3 separate regions of the Homo sapiens genome follow, and regions 2 and 3 are each linked to region 1. The links are contacts of gene promoters, found by promoter capture Hi-C in blood cells and fetal thymus (Javierre and others, 2016). All regions are on one chromosome and are shown on one strand. Each heading gives the region's core, a stretch centred on a gene start or on the middle of the fragment in contact. The rest is flanking DNA. Distances are from core to core; before and after follow the strand shown.

What was found. The method cuts DNA at HindIII sites, captures the fragments that hold promoters and counts their contacts. A CHiCAGO score of 5 or more calls a contact.
Region 2: a contact is called between the fragment with the promoter of ASIC3 here and the fragment with the promoter of UBE3C in region 1, in 1 of 17 cell types (total B cells). The highest score is 10.4, in total B cells.
Region 3: a contact is called between a fragment that was not itself captured here and the fragment with the promoter of UBE3C in region 1, in 1 of 17 cell types (naive B cells). The highest score is 5.5, in naive B cells.

What each region holds. Positions count from the first base shown.
Region 1 is chr7:157,137,676-157,141,775 of GRCh38, forward strand. It overlaps UBE3C (ubiquitin protein ligase E3C), which reads left to right and starts at 1,251. Exons shown (of 23, transcript NM_014671.3): 1 at 1,251-1,663. The coding sequence starts at 1,598. RefSeq lists silencers at 743-1,092, 1,373-1,762, 1,813-1,882. The HindIII fragment of the contact is 7,086 bases long and covers 1-4,100 here.
Region 2 is chr7:151,046,569-151,050,668 of GRCh38, forward strand. ASIC3 (acid sensing ion channel subunit 3) reads left to right here and starts at 1,963. Exons shown (of 11, transcript NM_004769.4): 1 at 1,963-2,851; 2 at 3,538-3,688; 3 at 3,913-4,040. The coding sequence starts at 2,318. It overlaps ABCB8 (ATP binding cassette subfamily B member 8), which reads left to right. Exons shown (of 16, transcript NM_007188.5): 16 at 1-1,214. RefSeq lists an enhancer at 3,475-4,100. The HindIII fragment of the contact is 11,911 bases long and covers 978-4,100 here.
Region 3 is chr7:151,066,444-151,070,543 of GRCh38, forward strand. It overlaps SLC4A2 (solute carrier family 4 member 2), which reads left to right. Exons shown (of 23, transcript NM_003040.4): 6 at 74-318; 7 at 408-550; 8 at 1,431-1,611; 9 at 3,504-3,639; 10 at 3,738-3,903; 11 at 4,014-4,100. Among named protein-coding and RNA genes, the nearest start is that of SLC4A2, 8.9 kb to the left of the region's middle. RefSeq lists an enhancer at 3,343-3,843. The HindIII fragment of the contact is 1,160 bases long and covers 1,846-3,005 here.

The sequences.
Region 1 (4,100 bases), core at 1-2,500:
TGCCTTAGCCTCCAGAGTAGCTTGGACTACAGGCGTGCACCACCACACCGGCCTAAGTTTTGTATTTTATTAGAGATGGGGTTTCACCATGTTGGCCAGGCTGGTCTCGAACTTTTCACTTCAGGTGATCCGCCCGCCTTGGCCTCCCAGAGTGCTGGGATTACCGGCGTGAGCGACCGTGCTCGGCCGCAGGACGACTGTAGATGATATCGTATTGTGTGTTGAAATTTTGCTAAGAGAGTAGATTTTATGTACTCTTACCACACACACACAAAGAGGGTAGTCATTTCACAATGTCTCTATGAAATCATCATGTTGCACACCTTGTATACAACCAAAAATCAATTTTTAGAAATTGGTTTCAATCGTGTATGATATATATGTATATGCACATGTATATGAGATATTATGTATACGTATGTGTGGATATAAGACACATGTTTATGTATAGGTGGTCCCCAACTTAAAATGGCTCAACTTACAATTTTTTGACTTTGTGATGGGTTTATTGTAGCATTAAATACATTTTCAACTTACAATATTTTCATCTTACGATGGGTTTATCAGGACAAAGCCCCATGGTAAGTCCAGGAGCAAATATTTTTGCATACACAGGTATGTGTACATGATACATATTTATATGTATTGATGCTGTATCTATAGATGCATATGTGTGCTATGTATGAGGCAAATCTGCGCATGTCTGTGTACATGGTAAATATTTACGTCCGTCTGTGCGTGTCATAGACATAGAACAGGTGGGATGTAAACAGACGGGCTGGGCCTAGCTGCTCCTTTCCCGCCTCACTCGAGTCTGGCACCAGATTGGCCGCTCCCAGCCCGCTCCGGGTGCCGGCCCCTGCACCCCACCCTGCACCCCGCACCCTGCCCTGCACCCCATCCCGGCCCGTGCCTCGCACTCCACCTTTCCCGCACCCTGCCCCGCACCCAACACCTCCCGCGCCCCTCGCCGCGCTCCCCCAGCACGCACCAGGCCCCGCCCACTCCGCCGCGTGCCCAGCCCGCGTCACCGCCGTCCTCCCCAGGCTCCAGCGCGCCTTGCGGGGCCGCGCACGCTAGCGGAACCGCCGGGAAGAGCGCCGTGCCGTCAATGGCGGAGGCGCGCACGTCTGCAGGGCCGCGCACGTCTGCAGGGCCGCGCACGTCTGCAGGGCCGCGCACGTCTGCAGGGCCGCGCACGTCTGCAGGGCCGCGCACGTCTGCAGGGCCGCGCACGTCTGCAGGGCCGCGCACGCACTGACGGCTGACCGCCATCTTCCCTCCCGAGGCGGCAGTTCCAGGTGCAAGCGCCGGGTTTGCTGCCCGCTGGGCGCCCCTGCAGCGGCCCGAGCTGTGGCCGGCGTGGATGAGGGGCAGGCGAGGCAGGGCCGCCCCTCCAGTATTGCCGCCCCTCCCGCCCCAGGGCAGGGCTGGGAGGGTACAGCCCGGGGGCGGGCTCGGGTCGCCTCCCGGCCGCCGCGTCCTCGCTGCCCCGGGCCGGGCGGGCGGGCGCCGAGAGCCTCCCAGCCCGCCCCGTGCCCCGCCCGCCCGGCTGCTTCCGCGGCGGCGCTGCCCGCACATGGGCTAGGCTGCCAGGATGTTCAGCTTCGAAGGCGACTTCAAGACGCGGCCCAAGGTGTCCCTTGGCGGCGCGAGCAGGAAGGTGAGGGCCGGGCTGGCGGGGCGCCCTCGGCTCGGGGCCTGCGCGGCCGGGGCTCGGGGCTGGGACTCGGGGCTGGACTCGGGGCTGGACTCGGGGCCGAGACTTGGGGCTGGATTCGGGGCCTCCCTGGCGGGGACTCGGGGCTTCCTCGCCGGATCTCGGGGCCGCTCCGGCCGGGACTCGGGGTTGGACTCGGAGCCGAGACTTGGGGCCAGGACTCTGGCTGGGGCTTAGGACTGGACTCGGGGCCTCCCTGGCTGGAACTCGAGGCCGCGCCCGTGGGGGCCTTGCCTGTCCACTGCGCTTCGGGACCCGGGCGCGCTGGCCGTGGCTCCCTTCCATGCAGGAGGCCGGTGAACCCTGGCACGCTTTGTGCCACCCAAGGTGAACTTACCCTTTCTGGGTGTTTCCTTTCAGAAATGCGCTTTCCATGCTCGCTCCCGCATGGCATCAGGGAGTGGCTGCTTTTCGAATGCCACCTGAAGGGCGTTTTCGGTTGTAGAAGGTGAACGGCACGCATTTGCTGATGTCGATAATCTCTAAAGTAGAGGCAGAACGTCTCATGAATAGCCACGTGTTTGAATCCAAGACGAGGGCAATTATTTGCCACCAGCCTCCTGGAAACTGTGGAGAGACTCCGGACTTACATCTGTTGTGATCGACATTAAGTTGTTCGCATGGTAATTGTTTAGGATAAGGGTAGGCAAACCATGACGCCTCTGTTCTAGTCTAGAATTTCTAGCTGTCTGTCCCTGAAGACGGGCATCAGTTGGTTCACTGGAACCGCTAAGTCGTTGAACACTGTGTGGTCTTGTTCCCGCCCCTCCCTTCCCACCCCTTCCCATCATTTCTGAAATGTTCTTTAAAATGCTTCACCTAGTTTTTCTTGTCTATCAGTATATTCTGTATATCACAACCACCAGGTAGGCACATAACGCAGAGTGGGTGCTGGCAGGCCAAGGAGGAACTGCTGTTATTAAGATTGTGCTGTGGGGCTGTGTTTGGTGGTTTCTGAGGTTAGAAGGGAACCTGGGTAAAGAGTTGGGAGAGAAGTGTGCTGATAATTTTTCAGCTTTGAGGTTCGTGTGATGGTGATTGCTTGGAAGTCACTTGTGCTCCAGAACTAAGTACTGTGCAGTTAAGGGTGGTCGTGGTAGCACTTAGGGTCTTCCACGTTAATGAAAATGTTTTATGAGATCAAAGGATTTCTACAGTTAGGAGAGACTTCAGAGAATCTCAGGGCCAAATCGCCTTGCTTACAAGTTCGGAAGGTGAGCTGCAGAACATTTGAAGGAGTGCCCATTCACACAGCAAGCTAGTGGCAGACCATCTGAGACTCCATGCCATTTACACAGCGCCGCGCGGCCTCTGTTGCAGGCAGGAACACCCCACGGGCCACGGATGTTGGTCCCTTTTCACCAAGGAGTGCATCTCTGCTCTGAGGGAGTGAGATTTCTTAACTGTTGATCAGAATCTCAAGGGAAGATAGCACGAGCTGTGTAAAAGAATCACCCCTTTAAAAACAAAACTCTTTTTATTGAGGTATAACTTAAGATACAGTCAGGTTCACAAACACTAAAGAGATCCTTGTGCAAGTGAAATTGAGGAGGAAGGGCGAGAGGGAAGCTGGGTAGGGAAGGAAAAGGCGTCTCAGCTGGAGGCTAGCGTTAACCCCATCTCACCAGGAGCATGCTACAATTGGCCCTAATTGCGGCAGAGGGGTTGGTGGCTGCAGGCTGCTGCCCCTCCGGGATGAGGGTGGGAGTGTGGCACTGCTAACCCTGAGCCGAGGGCCATTCTTCTGGGAGAGAGTGGCAGTAAAGAGCCCTTAGTAGGAACTGGCAGCAGCTGGGGCATGGGTGCCCTGGCCTGGTTAAGGAATCTGGGTGGGGAGCCAGCTGTATGTACAGCTTGAAGGATTTTTGCATATGGACACTCTCCTGTAGATGGAACACCACTCACATCAAAGGAAGACCATCCCCAGCATTCCAGAGGCTCCCCTGCACTCTCACCCATTCATTACAGTCATATGTGACTTAAAGAGGGGGACGCTGTCACTAGTCCAGTTGGTTGTTGTGGGACCGTCCTAGAGTGCACTTAACAGAAACCTATAGCCAGTGTTGCCCACTGCACACCTAGCTGCTTGGTACAGCCCGTTGCCCCTATGCTACACACCTGGACAGCGTGTTTCTGTGCTGAATACTGTAGGCAGCTCTTCATGCAATGGTGAGTGTCTGTGCATCCAAACGTAGATACAGTAAAAATACAAATTATAATCTTATGGGACCACGGTGTATATGTGGTCTGTTGTCGACAGACTGAGAGGTCATTATGCCATGTATGTCTGTAGCCCCACAAAGGTGACTGTCCTTCTGACCTCCATTACTGTAGATGAGCGTTACCTGTTGAACTTCAGGGGCATGGAGCCACTCACCAC
Region 2 (4,100 bases), core at 713-3,212, 6.1 Mb before region 1:
GGATCCTTCCCCTATCCAGCCACATCCAGGCTGTGGGACTACACGGTGCCCTGTTCCCCTGGGCAGGAGAAGAGGTGGTACCTGCAATGCACCTTCACAGCCAGGCAAGCATTCTGGATTTACCCTGTGTAAAGAAGGGTGGTACCCTCTTTCAGGGGTGTGATACAGTGCATTGATGGAGCAGCTGGTGCTGCTGGGAGGCCAGCCTGGAAGAGGCAGCAGTGGCTCAAGTTTGCGTGCAGGAGCCAGAGTGGGACCCACGGGCTCTTGTGGGTGTGGTTTAGAACTAGATGGTGCTTTGGGGACAAGCCATCCAAAAACCCCAGGCCCACATCCACCCTGATTTGATATCCCACTTCCTGACAGATCAGAGGCTGTGTCTTTAAGCAGTGGAGGTCCAGGAGCAGAGCCTGGGGCTGGTTCACAGCTAAACCCCTCCTTAGGGCAGCCCAGAGTAGGGCCTCAGCTGGCAAGTCCACAAGCCCTGCTGGGGCCCTGCTTGTTGGCCTGACCCCTCCCTCACCAGGCAGCCAGCCAAGGTGGTTCCTGCTTCACCCACTCAGTCATCAGCCTCAGGCTGCCCAAAATGCCTCTGACACCAGATTTATATCTTCTGGGCGGCTTCTTTAAATCCAGCCCTTCACCCGCCCCCTAGAGAAGCAGTGAAACCCCTTGGCTAGTCCAGCTGGAAGAGCTAGACCGCAGGAGCCGCGCCGTCTTCCTAACCTCGCCTCGGCCTTCGCTCCACAGTGGAGAGTGGGAGCCTAGCTGTGCTTGATGCTGAATGCCTGTTTTGAGAGTGTGAGTGGGATCATCTACAGTAAATACTTGCAAAGCATGGCACTGTGGCTCTGGGGAGCTGGTACGCCTGTGCTGTAACCATGGTACTCAGTCCTTCCAAAGTGTTTATTAATCAAGCACCTGTCATGTGCCATTGAGCCCACGATGGGGAATGAGGACAGTCCCTGCCCCCATGAAGCTTGTGTCCTGTTGGGAGGACAGACAGGTGGCCCAGCAGTTGCAGCATGGTGTGTGCACACGTTTGGCTGGTGGAACCATGTTTCTACCACTCATGGTCAAAAAAAGCCCACCAAAGTCCTGGGAGTTCACATCTGTGTGATGATACGGCAACATTGTTTGTAATGGAAAGACTGGACACCCCCAGTGCCCATCAGTGGGGGAGTCATTAAATAAACTATGGTATGTGCACATAATGGGTGGTATGCAGCCCTTTGGAAAAATGTAGGTTTTCCAGGTCCTGGATATAGCAGCGTAAGATGGGAAATCACAGAATACCCATGTTGTGCCTGAGATGGCAGGTGGGGTACCCGTGGTACCCGGGAGGGTGGCAGGTGGGGCACCCATGTTCTACCTGGGGTGGCAGGTGAGCCCATAACCATTGTAGAGGCCAACATCCTCAGAGGCCTGAGTGTGGGGAGGTAGGCTTTGACTCCCTAGGGAGAGAGGGACACTTAGGAAACAGACGGGCCCTGGAAGTGGGACATGAAGAGTGCCCTGGCCATCCAGTGTAGGCTGAGATGCTAGGGGCACAGAAAGAAGAGATCTGCTGATGCCAGCCTTCCAACCATTTCCCAGCTTGGCCAAGAGCCAGCTCTGGTATTCGTGAAGGAACAGATCCTGGGTGAAGCTAGAGGGAAGGCCGCAGAGGCAAAAGGAGAGAGGAGCTAGGCCAGGGGTCAGCGACTGACCCTCGCGGCCAGTGTACAGGGGTTGCAACTGGGAGCCTAGGGGGCCCCAAGGCATCTCCAGGCCCAATCTACCTCTGGGCTTTTCTCAAGCTCTCCCTAGGATTACTGCGGTTTCCTCCTGGCGCCTCTCGTCTTGGACAGCCATGCCCCCCTCCATGCTGCACTAATGGCTCAGCCTGGGGCCCTAGGGACCTCTCCTACCCCCCAGACTGCTCTGTCGGCCCCCTTTCCCCCCTACTGCTGAAACCCAATCCTCTGCAGCAGCGCCGGCTCAGCACCGCCGGCTCAGCACCGCTCCGCAGCCCCTGCCTGCCACGGTCAGCTACGTCCCACCTGGTCTGCTGCGGAGTCCCCAGCCCAGTGCCTAGCCCAGTGGAGCCACCGCCTGTTCCTCGGGAAGGAACAGTGGGACCTGACCGGCCAGATCACCTCCTCCAATCCTGCCAGGCTAGTGCCTCCCTGCCTTCCAACCTTGGCTGTCTCCCACCCTCTCTTCTCCTCTCCTTGCCTGGCCTCCTGAATCCTATCTTAGCCTCCTTAGCCCCCTGACTGACTCTCTCTCGCTTCTTCCAAGCCTCTGTAGCTGGTTCCGCTCCTGGGTTCTGGCCATGAAGCCCACCTCAGGCCCAGAGGAGGCCCGGCGGCCAGCCTCGGACATCCGCGTGTTCGCCAGCAACTGCTCGATGCACGGGCTGGGCCACGTCTTCGGGCCAGGCAGCCTGAGCCTGCGCCGGGGGATGTGGGCAGCGGCCGTGGTCCTGTCAGTGGCCACCTTCCTCTACCAGGTGGCTGAGAGGGTGCGCTACTACAGGGAGTTCCACCACCAGACTGCCCTGGATGAGCGAGAAAGCCACCGGCTCATCTTCCCGGCTGTCACCCTGTGCAACATCAACCCACTGCGCCGCTCGCGCCTAACGCCCAACGACCTGCACTGGGCTGGGTCTGCGCTGCTGGGCCTGGATCCCGCAGAGCACGCCGCCTTCCTGCGCGCCCTGGGCCGGCCCCCTGCACCGCCCGGCTTCATGCCCAGTCCCACCTTTGACATGGCGCAACTCTATGCCCGTGCTGGGCACTCCCTGGATGACATGCTGCTGGACTGTCGCTTCCGTGGCCAACCTTGTGGGCCTGAGAACTTCACCACGGTGAGCTGACCTCCCTACCTATCCTGCCAGGGACCCAGAGAGCCGACCAGTCCCTGCCCAGCACCCACAATTCCCTAGCCAGCACAGGCTCCCCCAAAGCCAGGGGACCTCTTCCTTCCTACCAGCCATGGACTCCCCACCCCCCAGTGCCACTCCGTGCAGCCCAGGAAGCTGTCCTCCTTGGGGCTTTCTCTGTCTCCCAGCCCGAGGGGAGCATGTGAGGCCACACTGACCCCGGCTGGCCCTAGGCCTGAGGTCTGGCCCAGGGAGGCCCTGCTCCTGGGGCTGGGGGTCCTCCATGGTGGGACCATTCTGGGGCAGAAGACCCCTATCTCTGCCAGGAGGTGGGGGGGGCTTGCTTTCCCTCTGCCTTTTCAACATACTGCCAGCCCCGGAGGACAGCCACAGGGGCCCATTTCCTTTTCCTGCAGTTCCCAGAGAAACACAGAAAAACCTGTAGGCTGTGCCCTGGGCTTTGGTGGGGATTGGCGGGGTGGAGGAGCTGAGTTGATGGGCTCCCAAGAGCGTCCTGCAACATGTGCCCACTGGAGCGTGGGGCTGGGGGCATTGAGATGCGGGCTTCAGTATTCAAAGAAGAGACGCAAACATACCATGAGGTGGGGAGAGGTCCCATGACCATGTGCCTGCCTGGGGGAGATGGCCATCACCCTGTCTGCCCGCCCCAGATCTTCACCCGGATGGGAAAGTGCTACACATTTAACTCTGGCGCTGATGGGGCAGAGCTGCTCACCACTACTAGGGGTGGCATGGGCAATGGGCTGGACATCATGCTGGACGTGCAGCAGGAGGAATATCTACCTGTGTGGAGGGACAATGGTAGGGAGCACACAAATGAGGCTGGGGGAGGGCACGGATGGAGTGCAAAAGGCTAGGGGAAGGAGAGGAGGAGAGGAGGTGTCAGGGTGTTCCCCCAGAACCTGTGAAAGGGGCTGGGCTGGCTCATCCCAGTCCTGGGGAGAGGGGCTGCAGTGAGAGGTCTTGTCTGGTTGGGCAGGAGACCTGACCACACAGGTCAGGCCTCACAGGTCCCTCCCCGACAGAGGAGACCCCGTTTGAGGTGGGGATCCGAGTGCAGATCCACAGCCAGGAGGAGCCGCCCATCATCGATCAGCTGGGCTTGGGGGTGTCCCCGGGCTACCAGACCTTTGTTTCTTGCCAGCAGCAGCAGGTACCCTTCCGTGTGCCTCCACACCTACTACTTCAAGCCCACACCACCTCAGACCCTAAA
Region 3 (4,100 bases), core at 1,176-3,675, 6.1 Mb before region 1:
ACCGCCTGCGTGGGTGCTGGGCGTGGGGGAGGAGGCCAGGTTTCTCGGGCTCACGGCCATTCTGTCTGCCTAGAACCCAGGTGGAGGAGGCGGAGGCGGAGGCGGTGGCGGTGGCCAGTGGCACTGCAGGGGGTGACGACGGGGGTGCCTCGGGGCGCCCCCTGCCCAAAGCCCAGCCTGGGCACCGCAGCTACAACCTTCAGGAGAGGAGGCGCATCGGGAGCATGACTGGGGCTGAGCAGGCACTGCTGCCCCGGGTCCCCACGGATGAGATTGAGGCCCAGACGCTGGCCACGGCCGACCTAGACCTCATGAAGAGTAAGTGCTGGGCCTTGGCCAAGCCCGGCACTGGTGGGCAAAGGAGTGAGAGAAAGGGGGAGCCCAACCTTGGTCCTCTGCCCCCACAGGTCACCGGTTTGAGGACGTTCCTGGGGTGCGGCGGCACTTGGTGCGGAAGAATGCCAAAGGTTCCACACAGAGTGGCCGAGAAGGGCGGGAGCCTGGCCCCACACCTCGGGCCCGACCCCGGGCCCCCCACAAGCCCCATGAGGTACCATGCTCTGCTTCATGCTCTTCCATCAACTTCCCACACGACCCTGCCCCTACCTCTCAGACCAGCTGTAATCTCAAGCCTCAGGGTTGCCACTGTTGTTTTGTTGTTGTTTGAGACAGTCTCGCTCTGTTGCCCAGGATGGAGTGCAGTGGTGTGATCTCAGCTCACTGCAACCTCTGCCTCCTGGGTTTAAGCGATTCTCCTGCCTCAGCCTCCTGAGTAGCTGGGATTACAGGCACCTGCTACGCCCAGCTAATTTTTGTATTTTTAGTAGAGATGCAGTTTTACCATGTTGGCCAGGCTGGTCTCCAACTCCTAGCCTCTAGGAATCCGCCCGCCTCGGCCTCCCAAAGTGCTAGGATTACAGGCATGAGCTGCCGCGCCGGGCCCAGGGATGCCACCTTTGGTTGTGAAGGTTGTACACTGCACAAGAGTGCAGTATACACATCTTAGAGCTTATTGACTTGGGCACTGTGATTATACTCCCCATGGTGGATGTCGTTGATTTGAGTATTGTGGTTATAATTCACGTCTGTTAAAAGGCCTGCAAAACGCCATTGCTTTCATATACAGTGGCCATTTCTCAAGTGCTCACTCTGAGGCACGTAGCGTGCCATGTGCTTTTCCTTTTCATCCTTCTGACAGTTCTTTGAGGTGGGTATTATTCCCATTTGACAGATGAGGGAAACTGCGTCTCATTGGTTAGTCAGTTGTCCAGGGTCCCAGCTGGCTGTGGGACTGGTGCGCCTGTGCACCACCCACTGTGCTCGTGCTCTCCAGGGTCACTTGGCTCCCTCTGACACCACTCACCTCTGACACCCACCCCAGGGCTGCCTCCGGCTCTGTACCCTGAAATGCCTTCTCTTCTCTCCCCAAGGTGTTTGTGGAGCTGAATGAGTTGCTCCTGGACAAAAACCAGGAGCCCCAGTGGCGGGAGACAGCTCGCTGGATCAAATTTGAAGAGGACGTGGAGGAGGAGACTGAGCGCTGGGGGAAGCCCCACGTGGCCTCCCTCTCCTTCCGCAGTCTCCTGGAGCTCCGCAGGACCCTGGCCCATGGTAACCCCGCTCCCCTCCACCTCCCGCCTGGCCAGTCCCCAGGAAATTCTCCCACATGGCCCCAAATCTGTCTTGAGCCCCACGTTGTGTGACAGCCCCAGAGCCCAGAGGAAGCATGGTCCACACCCAGCTCACATTTGCATTTTCGGCCAGCAGCTTCTTGATATTCTCAGATAACAACTGAAGCCGATGTGTTTTGGTTGCGAAAATGTTCGAGAAGCTATTTAGATGTAAAGCTTTCTGAAATTCCTGGCATGCCTTGGTACCATCTTAGAGATTCTGTGGAATGTGATCTAATCTGCAGCTGTGTAGACCTCACGAAATGACCACCGACCACAGATGCAGGACTTCCAAGCCCTGTGTTTGCTTGCTTGCTCCTTCCCAATGAGTGACCACTCTCAGTTGTTGTTAAAAGGCCTGTTTCTAAGCAGCTGAGGTTCTGTGGTTTGAGGCAGCCTAGGAAAAAAATTAATTTTTTTTTTCGAGACAGGATCTTGCTCTGTTGCCCAGGCTGGAGTACAGTGGTGTGATCTTGGCTCACTGCAACCTCCACCTCCCATGCTCAAGTGATCCTCCTGCCTCAGCCTCCCAAGTAGCTGGAACTACAGGCGCGTGCTACCATGCCTGCCTAATTGTTTTATTTTTAGTAGAGATGGGGTTTCACCATGTTGCCCAGACTGGTCTCAAACTCCTGGGCTCAAGTGATTTACCCGCCTCAGCCTCCCAAAATGTTGGGAATACAGGCATGAGCCACTGTGCCTGGCTTAAAATTAAATTAAAAAAAAAAAAGTAAACGAAGCAGCTGCTGGGCGCGGTGGCTCATGCCTATAATCCCAGCACCTTGGGAGGCTGAGGTGGGTGGATTACGAGGTCAGGAGATTGAGACCATCCTGGCTAACAAGGTGAAATCCCATCTCTACTAAAAATACAAAAAATTAGCGGGGCACGGTGGCAGGTGCCTGTAGTCCCAGCTACTTGAGAGGCTGAGGCAGGAGAATGGTGTGAACCTGGGAGGTAGAGCTTGCAGTGAGCCAAGATCATGCCATTGCGCTCCAGCCTGAACGACAGAGCGAGACTCTTATCACCAAAAAAAAAAAAAAAAAAAGCAGCTGAGGACCTAGAAACCGGCTTTTAGAATTGTTTCCCAACTAGGAGTCCATAGGCCGTGAGTGAGGCTCAGGGTCTTTGGGTAAAGGGCCGCCGTGGAAGGGCTTTCTCACTGGGCGTTGTGGTCTCCAGCCTGGCTGCTCAGGGGTGTTTGGTTCTGTTTATTCTTTAGTCTTTGTTCCTGAAAGTTGGCCTTGCCAGATGAATGACCTGGTAACTTTTGAAGGGACTGTTATTTCTGTGTGCAATGGCGAGGGGAGGTTGAGAAGCCGACAAGGAAGTCAAGAAGCTTGGGGCGGAGGGGGGTCTTCAGATGGCTCCAGGGTGGCCACACGGACGAGGCTGCAGACCAGCTGAGTTGTGTATCAGGGTAGAACTAGGCCCCTAGAGTGACACAGCACCTGGCTCACTTAGAGGAGAGTTTTCTAACAGCCAAGAGGGTTCAGCCAGAGTGGGCGGCCTGGACCGTCCCCATGGAGGCCGGATGCTTCCTGGAAGGGGTGTCTGACAGGCGTGGCCTAGATGGCCTCTCTGGTCACTGAGGTTCAGTAGTCTCTGTGGAGCCTCATAACGTTCCTGGGGGTCTGGGGGAGGGGAGGAACCAGAGGGTTGATGTGACGTAGGCTCCTGTGGGAGCCAGAACTCGAGCCCGCGTCCTTCATGTGTAGGCTGGTGTTCCAGCCCCGGCACCCACCCACCTGTCCCCAGCTCCTGCTCCCCATCCCATCTCCTGCCACTGTTTTGTGACCTGGGGCTGAGGGGCCCTCTGTGCCATCTTATGCTAGGGGCTGTGCTCTTGGATCTGGACCAGCAGACCCTGCCCGGAGTGGCCCACCAGGTGGTGGAGCAGATGGTCATCTCTGACCAGATCAAGGCCGAGGACAGGGCCAACGTGCTGCGGGCTCTGCTGTTGAAACACAGGTGAGGCCCTGTGGGCCAGTTGGGGATGACACTTCAGCCCACCTGCCCTGGCCCTTGTCATTGACCCTCCTTTGCCTCACTGCCCTCTGCCCCACCAGCCACCCAAGTGATGAGAAGGACTTCTCCTTCCCCCGCAACATCTCAGCTGGCTCCCTGGGCTCCCTGCTGGGGCATCACCATGGTCAGGGGGCTGAGAGTGACCCCCACGTCACCGAGCCTCTCATGGGAGGTGTTCCTGAGACCCGGCTGGAGGTGGAGCGAGAGGTGAGGGGAGAACCAGCCCTGCCTGGGCTGGCGGCAGGGCTGAGGAAGCCTGGGTGTGGACTCAGAGTGGGAGGGGCCTGGCTGGGCTGAGCCCTGTCTGTGTCCCCCAGCGTGAGCTGCCGCCTCCAGCACCACCAGCTGGCATCACCCGCTCCAAGTCCAAGCACGAGCTGAAACTGCTGGAGAAGATTCCTGAG